Regions from separate parts of the Homo sapiens genome. Here regions 1 and 3 are each linked to region 2. The links are contacts of gene promoters, found by promoter capture Hi-C in blood cells and fetal thymus (Javierre and others, 2016). All regions are on one chromosome and are shown on one strand. Each heading gives the region's core, a stretch centred on a gene start or on the middle of the fragment in contact. The rest is flanking DNA. Distances are from core to core; before and after follow the strand shown. Region 1 overlaps LOC105371777 (a long non-coding RNA gene). Region 2 holds the start of KRTAP4-6 (keratin associated protein 4-6). Region 3 has its middle 4.1 kb from the start of KRT27.

Region 1 (4,026 bases), core at 1,146-3,645, 290 kb after region 2:
GGAGTCTCAAGAAATGAACTTTAAAATAAACTAACCTGGCTGGGCGCGGTGGCTCATGCCTGTAATCCCAGCACTTTGGGAGGCCAAGGCAGGTGGGTCACTTGAGGTCAGGAGTTCGAGACCAGCCTGGCTAACATGGCGAAACCCTATCTCTACTAAAAATACAAAAATTAGCCAGGAGTGGTGGCGTGCGCCTGTAGTCCCAGCTACTAGGGAGGCTGAGGCAGGAGAATAGCTTGAACCCAGGAGGCGGAGGTTGCAGTGAGCCAAGATCACACCACTGCACTCCAGCCTGGGCAACAGAGCAAGATTCCGTCTCAAAAAATAAAATAAAATAAAATAAAAATAAGCTAAGCCTGTGTGTTCAAGCCACTTGAGATGTATTGATACTAGAAGGTTTATCTTTTAAAACAAGAAAGAAGAAAAAAAGCAAACCTTTTACAACGATCAACTTAGCAAATTAAAATTGTCTTATTTAACTAATAATTAGTTTCCAAAAAGTTCACCAGTAAGGAGGCAGTTCTACAAGGCATAAAGTGAAAAAGAAAGTTAGCAATTATTTAGAGTTAAGAAAACCAGCCAATCAATAACTACTCAGGCTTTAAAAACATACTCAAATATCAAATGAAAATGAAATTCTTAATCATATAGCTGAGTAAATGATTTTTTTATGGGGTAGTAAATGTTTCTTAAATCTTGGAACTGAATCCAAGATTGTGCTGAGCTAAAGAAACCAGACACAAAAGAATACATACTGTATGATTCCATTTATATGAAACTTTCAGAAAGATAAAATCTCATCTATAGTGACAGAAATAAGCTCAGTGGTCACCTGAGCTGAAAGGTGTGGGAGGAGTGAGAATTAACTGGTTAACCTGGAAGGGGCACCTGAGAACCTTTGGGACCGATGGAAGTGTTCCGTATCTTGACTGTGGTGATGGGTCCATTTAGCAAGGCTCTTCAAACTGCACATTTAAAACGAATATATTTCATTGTAAGTAAATATTAACTCAATAGTCAATTTTAAAATAATAATTGAATATTCTTTCTTCAGATGATACTGTCCACAGGCGCAGAGAGGCCATGTAGGATCGTCAAAGGTGTCCTAGGGCAAGCTGGCTCTTAATCACTGATCAGTAAATATTCAGGAATTTTCCAAGCTGGCTATTAAACCATGGGCAGCTTGAAATTGGCCATGATGGGAGTATTTACACAAATGGAACTTGGGCTTTTAAAATGTATTTCCCAGAAAACTGTTTTACACCAGTACACCACTGAGCATAGAGGTTAAAAGCACAGTTCAAAGGCCTGAGTTTGGGTCCCAGCTCTGGCACTTTCTAATGGTTTTACTTACCTCTCTGTTCCATAGTTCTCTGTTCCCTAAAATCAAGGCAAAAAAGGATACCTGCTTCACGCCCTATTATGAGAATTCTATGGGTCAATTCACACTTGGCATATAGTAAGCACTAAATATTACCTGCTATTATTATGCAAAGAAAAAAAGTCTCTCTACAACTAAAGAAATGAACTGGTTTACATATTTCCCCCAGACATATTTATTCTTTTTCTTCCCTTCATGCACAATCCTAAATTATTCCACTTTTGTAAAAAAAAAAAGTGCACTTTTCTCACCCAACATATGGGGAGGGGGGAATAATATTTATCTTCCCTCTATCACAAGTTGTGAGCATCAAATAAGCCAACTTCTGTGAAGGAGCTTAACAAGCCATAAAGCACTTTGAAACTATAAGATGTGCTTTCTTCAGAGATGGGGTCGCTCTCTGTCACCCAGGCTGTAGTGCAATGGTGTGCTCATAGCTCACTGCAGCCTCAAATTCCTGGGCTCAAGTGATCCTCCCACCTCAGACTACTGCCATTTTAGTCAAATGTCAGATGCCTGATGAAAGGTGCAAACCACGGTGCCTGTCTAAAATGCTAATATTAATGTAGCTGCTCAAATTGAAGGGGAGGATTCTACAACTAAATACAGAGTATATAAAATAAATTAAGAAAAACTGGGGCTGGGAGCAGTGGCTCACGCCTATAATCCCAGAACTTTGGGAGGCCGAAGCGGGCAGATCATGAGGTCAGGAGATTGAGACCATCCTGGCTAACACAGAGAAACCCTGTCTCTACTAAAAATACAGAAAATTATCCGGGCGTGGTGGCGGGCACCTGTAGTCCCAGCTACTTGGGAGGCTGAGGCGGGAGAATGGTGTGAACCCGGGAGGCAGAGCTTGCAGTGAGCTGAGATCGCACCACTGCATTCCAGCCTGGGCGACAGAGTGAGACTCCGTCTCAAAAAAAGCTTAGCATTCTTGGGAATTGTCATGCATGATTTTAGGGTTTATTTCTTAAATTAGCATAATATAGCAGAATTATAAATAAATGCAATGCTTTACACACATGCAATAAATTGTTTGCAAAACTCAGAATAGATATTTTAACTTTATAGACTGTAAAAACATGAGCATCAAGCTTTTTCAGGAAAAAAATTCTGCATACTACTCTTCTTTAGAATTAAATTCATTGCGAATTCTAGTTGCTAAAATATGTCATTGTTTTTTCACTATGTACATATTCTTAATGAAATGCAACTCTTCTTCAAAATGATGGAACAAATACGCAATTTAGAAGCAGACCTGTAAATAAATCACACTGATAAAACAGTCCACAGACAGCAGTGGGCTCTAATAGAAGCCATTTAGATGGTATTTCAGGCTTTCTCAGTGAGTCATTATCTTACTCAGAACAAGTTACTCAACTTGAGATGACTCACTTTGTACAAAAAGACAACAATAATATCACATATAATCACATTAGCCCGGCATTTTGAAATCTTTAAAAACACCGTAAACACACGACGCTATGACCTTGGTTGGTAAGAATATGGTCATTTTAGTTACTGACTTGCACTTATTGATCTCCTGAAGTTATACATACACTACTAAGTTTCTGCTAAGTGTACTCATTTTGAAATATTTCATTTATTTGCAAGTAACATGGGATTTTAAAGAAATCACGTCAGGCTGCAATTTCACGTTTCAAATAAACAGAGCAACAAGTATAACTTTTTTGACAAGTTGCAGTGTAATTTTTATTTTTTATTATTATACTTTAAGTTCTGAGATACATGTGCAGAACGTGCAGATTTGTAACATAGGCATACACGTGCCATGGTGGTTTGCTGCACCCATCAACCCATCATCTACATTAGGTATTTCTCCTTAATGTTATCCCTCCCCTAGTCCCTCACTCCCCGACAGGCCCCGGTGTGTGATGCTCCCCTCCCTGTGTCCACATGTTCTCATTGTTCAACTTCCATTTATGAGTGAGAACATGTGGTGTTTGGTTTTCTCCGCTGGCTTATTTATGTATACAAGTGGGGCATCACATATGCATTTATTTGTGTATTCATTCTGTAGCTGTAATAGGTTCATTGCCTGGATGTTCACAGCAAGTCAATACCCAGAGGCACCAGGTTGCAACAGAGACAGAGGTTTAATGGTAAGGCCAACAAATGAGGAGAAAAGAGAAAACCCCAAATCCATCTTCCCGGGGACTCTGGGGCGAGGGTTTTTAAGAGTTTTGGAGTGAGCCAAAGCATAGAGATTGTTGATTAGTTGAAGAGTACAGGGTGAAGTCCCAGGACAGGGAGAGAAAGAAACTGTACTCTCATGCTCATTTGGTTTGTCTGTGGGAGTCTTTAAATTGGTTGGCGTTAGCAGTTCCACAGTAATTCAGGATCCGTTTAAGCAATTCTTAAACAAAAGCCTCATGGTTCTAACATTAGAATTTCTATCTACAGGAACAATGGGGATGCAAATGGTCAGAATCTAAGGTTATGTGATGTTTAGTTACAAGGAAGTGGGTCAAAGTGCAGCCTGGTTAAAGCTTAATTATAACTACATTTCTGCCCAGAATTCTTAATTCTGTGAGGATGGCTTCAATTCCTTCAACAAGCTTTTATTTAGCACCAACTATATGTAAGACTCTACATAGTCTATTGAAAATAACCTCAGTTTT
Region 2 (4,178 bases), core at 1,512-4,011:
CTGGCCAAGCCTCTTTCTTTCTCCCTCCCATAACCTGTTGATATGGTTAGGCTTTGTGTCCCCACCCAAATCTCATCTTGAATTGTAGTTCTCATAATCCCCACGTGTCATGGGAAGGACACAGGGGGAGGCAATTTAATCATGGGGTCGGTTACCTTCATGTGATAGTGAGTTCTCATGAGATTTAAGGGTTTTATAAGGGGCTTATCTTCCTTCTCCTCTGCACTTCTCCTTGCTCCCACGATGTGAAGAAGGATGTGTTTGCCTCCCCTTCTGCCATGATTGTAAGTTTCCTGAGGCTTCCCCAGCCATGGTGAACTGTGAGTCAATTAAACCTCTTTCCTTTGTAAATTACCCAGTCTTGGGTATTTCTTCATAGTAGCATGAGAATGGACCAATACACCTGCCTTGCCACTAAAACCTGTTTCCTGTTTTTGGCCATGCTCTGAGCCCTCATTCTTTCTGGGACCTCAAGATGTTGTATAAGCTTCTGTACCTTATTGAGGGGTTGAGTTTTCATTCTGAAGGCTCTTGGGTATACTTGTTAGATAAATGTGTATGCCTTTTCTCCTACTAATCAATCCGCCTCAAGTCAGTGATTTTTCAGTGAGGAAAATCCTTCCTCCATTGCACTTCTGTGGTGCCTTATTTACACATGGGCTCTATCATCTCATTCTCCATTGGAAATTCATGTGTCTATCAGCTCCTTCTAGAATACAAACTCCACTAGGGCAGAGATCTCCAGGTTCCTCAGGCCCCACATAAGTTCACAAGAGACATCCCTTCATTCCCAGGAAGAGAAAATATTGTGAAGGTAATTTGTTCTTTCCTTGAATAATTGCTTTTCCCTGAATGTCCACGGCACTAAAGAAGACCCTTTATTTAGAACCATGATCATGTGAGGATTTTATTTAAAAACTCTTTATGGGCCGGGCACAGTGGCTCTCTCCTATAATCCCAGCACTTTGGGAGGCCAAGGTGGGTGGATCACCTGAGGTCAGGAGTTTGAAATCAGCCTGGACAACATGGTGAAACCCCATCTCTACTAAAAATACAAAATTAGACGGGCGTGGTGACACATGGCTGTAATCCCAGCTACTTGGGAGGCTGAGGCGGAAGAATTACTTGAACCTGGAAAGCAGAGGTTGCAGTGAGCTGAGATGGTGCCACTGCACTCCAGCCTGGGCAATAAGAGTGAAACTCCATCTCAAAAAATAAATACATAAATAAATAAAATAAAAACTTGTTATGAATGCAATTTCTGTGTAAATGTAACTGGACCCAGGTTCAGCTGCTTGCTGCTGGAAAGCCAACACATAAGAGGCAAGGGCTGGTGAAAGGAAAGTTAGTTCTAGTTGGAGAGCCAGTAAACCAGAGGATAACCTTGCTTTGTGTGAGGCCAAGAAAGATATTGGAGAAAAATGGCATTTGAACTAACTGGTAATGAATAACTAGAAGAATGCTAAGTGAAGGAAATAAAAACATTTCACCCCAAGATATATCTCACTGACATCCTTTAGCTAGTGAACTAGCATTCTAAAGTGCCATCTTAAATTTTAAAATTTGCCATAGGGTTTTGAAAGGGAAACTTGGCATGGGAGACATGCAGGGGTGGTGCAGGGTGCTGAGTCTGCATGTCTTGTTCCAATGGCTATCTTGGGTGTCCAGAGGTTTGGGAGGCATTATTTTGACTTCAGCCCAATGGTGGTGGATTAATTGTTCAAGATTCCCCCTAAGTGAGAGGATTCCTCAGGGCTCTGTGCCTGGTTTGTTTCAAGATTAGCCTCTGGAATTTCTTAAGCAAGAATATAATTAGATAAGATATTAGATAGTATTGCCAGAAGGGAGTGTGCAGAGGGAAGGAATGAAGAGGTGAGAGGGGAGGAAAGGAAGAGAAAGTGGGTGATTTTTAAAATTGAGGTCCACAGTTACATAAGTACCTGTAAGTTAAAGAATATATCTTTTATATTCCTCTCAATGCTTCTTAAAAAATCTTAGAAATAAGTGATACTAAAAAAAAACCCTGCTAGATGTTTTAGCTCAAAATGTATGAAAAAGATTTTAACAAAATGTCAATAAAGCATAACCATTACACATTTGATATTTCAAAAGGCAGATCAAAAACTATGATCCACATTACTCTACTTCAGCCTGTAGGACACTTTTGAAGACAGACGCAGCTCAAGCCCAGATGATGCTTTGTTCCTTAGAAACAGTGAGTCACTACTAACTGTTTCAAGGTGCACCAGAGTGATGAGAATTAACACAGCTTGCAATGACCTAGGAATTTAGTTAGCTCAATGGCCACCCAGAATACATACAATGAATCATAAGCTTCCTTATTTCTCACACTCAAAAACAGGAGCATATTTTCTTTTTTTCCTGTCAGCATTCCAGCTGATTGACACATGCATTTCTCCACTAGAGATCTTAGCCCAATCAGAAGCTCTCCCAAAACGATATCATGATGAGAAACAGACAAGTGACAGTGGCCCTCCCATGTCACATGATACCCAGAGACTGAAGTCATGTGACACTGAAACCAAGGAAAGGAAAACAAGAGGTGACTCATGTGGGAACACCAGGGTGAGAAAAGGGAAATAATCATTTTCTATATATTGGGATTTTTTACTAGAAAAACACAATATAATTTAGTAATTGCATTTGTGTCATATAAACAAAAACAAGGAAACAATCTTCTCATAATCACAAAGGCTCCTCAGCTGGGTATAAAAGGGGACATGCAGCAAGGAGACTCCCAAACTCACGAAACTCACTCTCTTGGAAACCCACCCAGAACCTTTACCCTCTGACACCATGGTCAGCTCCTGTTGTGGTTCCGTCTGCTCTGACCAGGGCTGTGGCCTGGAGACCTGCTGCCGCCCCAGCTGCTGTCAGACCACCTGCTGCAGGACCACCTGCTGCCGCCCCAGCTGCTGTGTGTCCAGCTGCTGCAGACCCCAGTGCTGCCAGTCTGTGTGCTGCCAGCCCACCTGCTGCCGTCCCAGCTGCTGTCCCAGCTGCTGTCAGACCACCTGCTGCAGGACCACCTGCTGCCGCCCTAGCTGCTGTGTATCCAGCTGCTGCAGACCCCAGTGCTGCCAGTCTGTGTGCTGCCAGCCCACTTGCTGCCGTCCCAGCTGCAGCATCTCCAGCTGCTGTCGCCCCAGCTGCTGTGTGTCCAGGTGCTGCAGGTCCCAGTGCTGCCAGTCTGTGTGCTGCCAGCCAACCTGCTGCCGTCCCAGCTGCTGCATCTCCAGCTGCTGCCGCCCCTCTTGCTGTGAATCCAGCTGCTGCCGCCCGTGCTGCTGCCGCCCCTGCTGCTGCCTGCGTCCAGTCTGTGGCCGAGTCTCCTGCCACACCACTTGCTATCGCCCAACCTGTGTCATTTCCACCTGCCCCCGTCCCTTGTGCTGTGCCTCCTCTTGCTGCTGAGCTCCTTGCCTGAAACTATCTCCTCCCCTTCAGCTCACTCCTCACAGAAGCAGACCTTGTGCATCTCATAAACAACTCAGAAGAGGCCATTCCCACCAACTGTGTTTCCATATCCTGGACATATATCTAGGATATATGTCCTGGCTATACATCTAGAATATATGTTCCCCATGTTGACCCAAGTGTGAAATTAGATATTATTTACAGAAAGAAATTAATAGAATTTACCAAATTTTATACCTTATATTTGTATTTATGGATACCAAGTTCTTCTGTCCCAAACATGGAAATTCTTGCAGGGTAACTCGGGGCAAGGTTGTCTCACTCTCAGATTTGAAAGTCTGATTGTTTCACCCTGTATTTCCTTTTACAGCAATGTTTCTGTATCTTATTTTTGCTGCTTCTGAATAAAACTCCACTTTTGTCGCATAGAAATACAATGTTCTTTTTGTGTTGCTTTGTAATGATTGTCCTTAGTTCCTGAGAAATTCCACCCAAAACACAACTGAACGAATCCTATTCTTGCTCTCACCTTCAAGAAAATTGCAACATGTAATGACCTAAAAAAAAGGCAATACATGGATGTTTCCAAAAGTATTGAAAAAAATAAAGATTTTAAGTTAAGTTTTTTTATGAATATGGAGAAGGGTTATATCCCACAGCTAAATTTTCTTAAATATTTTTGAAAGTGTATCTTTCCCTACAATCTCACTCCTCTCTTATTTGCTTTATTTTTCCGTTTC
Region 3 (3,882 bases), core at 492-2,991, 350 kb after region 2:
TTTCTTCTAGTACTTTTAAGGTGATCATATGGTTTCTGTCATAGGACACTTTTATCTGCTACATATCATATTGAGTCATTGTCATTTCTGGTGAAAAACTTCCTTGGGATATTTTCTGCTATTTAATATATTAATGAATTGTATTTGCTAATATTTTATTTAAGATTATTTCCAGAATATGTCTTTCTTCTGGTGACTGATTTCCCCTAAATTTCTCATTTTCTGTGATTGTATCTTAGTTTAATTAGGTTTTTGTCCTTTTATTTCTAATCATTTCCTAAGGTTTGTCACCTCATTTCTAAGTTTTTTTCTAATTCTGGTTTATGGGAATTTTTTTTTCTTTTATCATTTTAGCGATTTTAAGTCACTTTGAAATGGTGGGTTGTATCTTACTCAGTTTTGTAGGCATGTCTTTCCGGTATGCTTTCATTTTCTATAGGGACACTATGCTGCTCCTCATCCTTATTATCTTGTATTAACATTTCCCGGGATTTTACTTCAATCCTTTTCTTTTGCTTGGTTTTATTGCCAATTCATGTTCCTTAACTTCTAGACTGAAGTATCATTCCAGGCCGGGCGTGGTGGCTCACGCCTGTAGTCCCAACACTTTGGAAGGCCGAAGCAGGTGGGTCATTTGAGGTCAGGAGTTCGAGACCAGCCTGGCCAACATGGTGAACTCCCTTCTCCATTAAAAATACAAAAGTAGCTGGGCGTGGTGGTGCACGCCTCTAATCCCAGCTACTCAGGAGACTGAGGCAGGAGAATGACTTGAACCTGGGAGGCAGAAGTTGCAGTGAGCCAAGATCGTGCCACTGCACTCCAGCCTGGGCAATAGAGTGAGACTCCGTCTCAAAAAATAATAATAATAAAGTATAATTCCAAATAGCTTTACTAACTTCACAGAGCTCCCTTTTCTCTTGTTTTTATCTAGGATTCAAAAATACATTGGCTTGATTTCTGAAATTTCCTGTCTTTTTTTCCCTCCTCCACTTGTATCTAGACCTTCTGTTTCCTTCCTCTCTGTGACCCTCTCCTGAATAATTTTGATTCTTCCCCTAGCAGTTTCTCCTTGTCGTGGGTTGCTCTCCCAGGAGGGAACCATGGCTGGTCAGTTTTGAGAATTCACAGGATCTAGGCCGTTCCGTTCCCTTCTGAATTCATGGAGGACCCTTAGTTTAAAGTTAGAACGATTTTCTAAGTAGTTTAACCCCTGTTTTCTCCGTATCTTTATCTCTCATGCCACTTTCTTATGCAATTAAAACTACCAAGAAATCATTTTCATCTATCCCCCTGAAGTGCTCACTTTCAGAATCTCCTGTCCTCCTATGCAACATTGGCTGTTTTTTAAGCCTGCTACCCAGCTGTCATGTGGGAACACTCACTCAGTGCGCTCACATTGGAACTCCATTTCCAGGAACCTAAGTTTTCCTTTTTCATGTTTTTCTCTCTAGTGGCTTCCTGACAAAATGTGCAAAAGAGATAATTTTTTTGAGACCTTTCATGTCGGAAAAGATTTTTATTCCACCCTCACTTGTGGTTGTTAAAGTAGAGAATTTTGGTTCTCTACATAAGTCACAATTAGAAAAAAACTTAGAAATGAGGTGACAAACCTTAGGAAAGGATTAGAAATAAAAGGTTGGATATCATTTTGCGTTCACTTTTTTTTTTTTTTTAAGAGACAGCATCTCGCTCTGTCAACCAGGCTGGAGTACAGTGGTGTGATCACAGCTCACTGCAACCTCCGCCTCATGGGTTCGAGCAATTCTCTTGCCTCAGCCTCCCAAATAGCTGGGATTACAGGCACATACCACCATGGCCCAGCTAATTTTTGTATTTTTAGTAGAGACGGGGTTTCACCATGTTGGCCAGGCTGGTCTTGAACTCCTGATCTCAAGTGATCCACCTCCCTCGGCCTCCCAGAGTGCTGGGATTACAGGCGTGAGCCACTGCGCCTGGCCTGGGTTCGTATTTTGAAAGCATTCTTCACTAGAATGATGGCTTTCCTAAAATTGAATATGTGTTGGTTTTGCTCCTGACATTTTAAGTGTTTGTTTGTCGCCCCCGCCCCCAGCCATGGTTCTCTGAAAGATCCTGTGGATGTGCCTCACTGTGGATGTTTTTCATTTATCATTCATGGTTCTTGGTGGTCTCTTTGAATTTAGAAGCTCAGTTGTTTAGTTCTGAGTAGTATTTCAGAAAATATGTTTATAAAATAATTTCTTCATGATTTCTCCCTTCTCTCTTTCCAGAAGACCTACTTGATGTTGTTCTTCTTTGACCAAGTCTCTCATTTTCTTTTTCTTTTTTTTTTTTTTTTTTTTTTTTTTTTTTTTTCTGAGATGGAGTGTTACTCTGTCGCCCAGGCTGGGGTGCAGTGGCGCGATCTCGGCTCACTGCAAGCTCCGCCTCCCGGGTTCACGCCATTCTCCTACCTCAGCCGCTGGAACTACAGGCGCCCGCCACCACCGCCGGCTAATATTTTTGTATTTTTAGTAGAGACAGGGTTTCACCGTGTTAGCCAGGATGGTCTCGATCTCCTGACCTCGTGATCCGCCCACCTCGGCCTCCCAAAGTGCTGGGATTACAGGAGTGAGCCACCGCGCCCGGCCCAAGTCTCTCATTTTCTAATATTTTCTTTTATCTGTAAACAAGTTCTCTGAGAAGGAAATTCAAGGACAGAGACTTCATTCCAGCAAACAGCTAGCAAGCTGGTGAGACACAGCCTTTGGTGTAAAATGAAAATGTGTTCCAGAGAACAAAGGAAGGGAATTTGTCTTTTAGAGAAAGTTCCCACCCAGGTTCCCACTTAGGTCTGCTTATGCAAAATGCAGGATTGAAATTTACTTAGTTCTGGTTGGTTGATGTTTGCTTAGTTAGCTCTTATTAGTCAGGGCATGCAGACTTCTGATTGATCCATGTAGGTTACAGCCTATTGTTTGGTTCAGGTGGCATAAACTGGAAGCTATGAAAGTCCCAAAGTTAAGCAGATGTGCACATTTTCTGGGAACTCAGAGTAAATATGTGACCTGTAGTCAGCAAATGGTTGCTTGGTTTTAATTTGAATTTAGGCCCAGTTAGCTGCTCAGGACTCATCTTAAGAGGCTGGTTCTTTACGCCAGGCACGGTGGCTCACACCTGTAATCCCAGCACTTTGGGAGGCCGAGGCTGGCGGATCTCTTGAGGTCAGGCATTCGAGACCAATCTGGCCAACATGGTGAAACCCCATCTCTGCTAAAAATACAAAAATTAGCCAGGCATGGTGGCATGTGCTTGTAATCCCAGCTACTTGGGAGGCTGAGGCAGGAGAATTACCTGAACCTGGGAGGTGGAGGTTGCAGTGAGCCAAGATCGCGCCAGTGCACTCGAGCCTGGGTGACAGAGCAAGACTCAGTCTCAAAAAAAAAAACAGAGAGAGAGAGAGACTGGCTCTTTCAAGGCTCACATATTTATCTTTTCATCTTTTTGTTCTAATTTTGGGGAGTTTTTTTTTAAATTTATTTTCCAATTCATCTATTGAAGTTTTCTTTTGGGACTTAGTTTTTAATTCTAAGAGGTCTTTTATGTGCTTCCTGTTCAATTTTAATGATGTTCTATCCATGTTTTAAATATACAGTATTTTTGTTACTTCTGAAAGTAATAATTATAGGTAGTTTCTTTTTTAAAGTTTTCTTCAACGTTCTTCATTATCTCTGTTTCCCCTGAGTGCTATTTTTTGTTTGTTTGAGTCTCTGTCTTTCTTGTTGGAGTGTTTTTCAATGTATCGTGATATTTTAAATTATGTTCGTTTTGAGTAAGACCTTAAACATTTGAAAGCTTTGTGTGAAGTGTCTGTGTTTCCTTCCAGAGTGGTTGTACAGTGAGCTCCCTTTTTGTGGAGAACAC

The links. The method cuts DNA at HindIII sites, captures the fragments that hold promoters and counts their contacts. A CHiCAGO score of 5 or more calls a contact.
Region 1: a fragment that was not itself captured here is called in contact with the fragment with the promoter of KRTAP4-6 in region 2 in 1 of 17 cell types (endothelial precursors); the score reaches 5.6 in endothelial precursors.
Region 3: a contact is called between a fragment that was not itself captured here and the fragment with the promoter of KRTAP4-6 in region 2, in 1 of 17 cell types (erythroblasts). The highest score is 5.3, in erythroblasts.

Annotation. Positions count from the first base shown.
Region 1 is chr17:40,853,136-40,857,161 of GRCh38, reverse strand. The region is part of intron 1 of LOC105371777 (a long non-coding RNA gene); the gene reads right to left. Among named protein-coding and RNA genes, the nearest start is that of KRT12, 12 kb to the left of the region's middle. RefSeq lists an enhancer at 1-165. The HindIII fragment of the contact is 170 bases long and covers 2,311-2,480 here.
Region 2 is chr17:41,139,127-41,143,304 of GRCh38, reverse strand. KRTAP4-6 (keratin associated protein 4-6) reads left to right here and starts at 2,761. Exons shown (of 1, transcript NM_030976.2): 1 at 2,761-3,872. The coding sequence starts at 2,818. The coding sequence ends at 3,435. RefSeq lists an enhancer at 3,117-3,629. The HindIII fragment of the contact is 3,012 bases long and covers 2,337-4,178 here.
Region 3 is chr17:40,784,753-40,788,634 of GRCh38, reverse strand. No RefSeq gene overlaps it. Among named protein-coding and RNA genes, the nearest start is that of KRT27, 4.1 kb to the right of the region's middle. The HindIII fragment of the contact is 4,148 bases long and covers 1-3,815 here.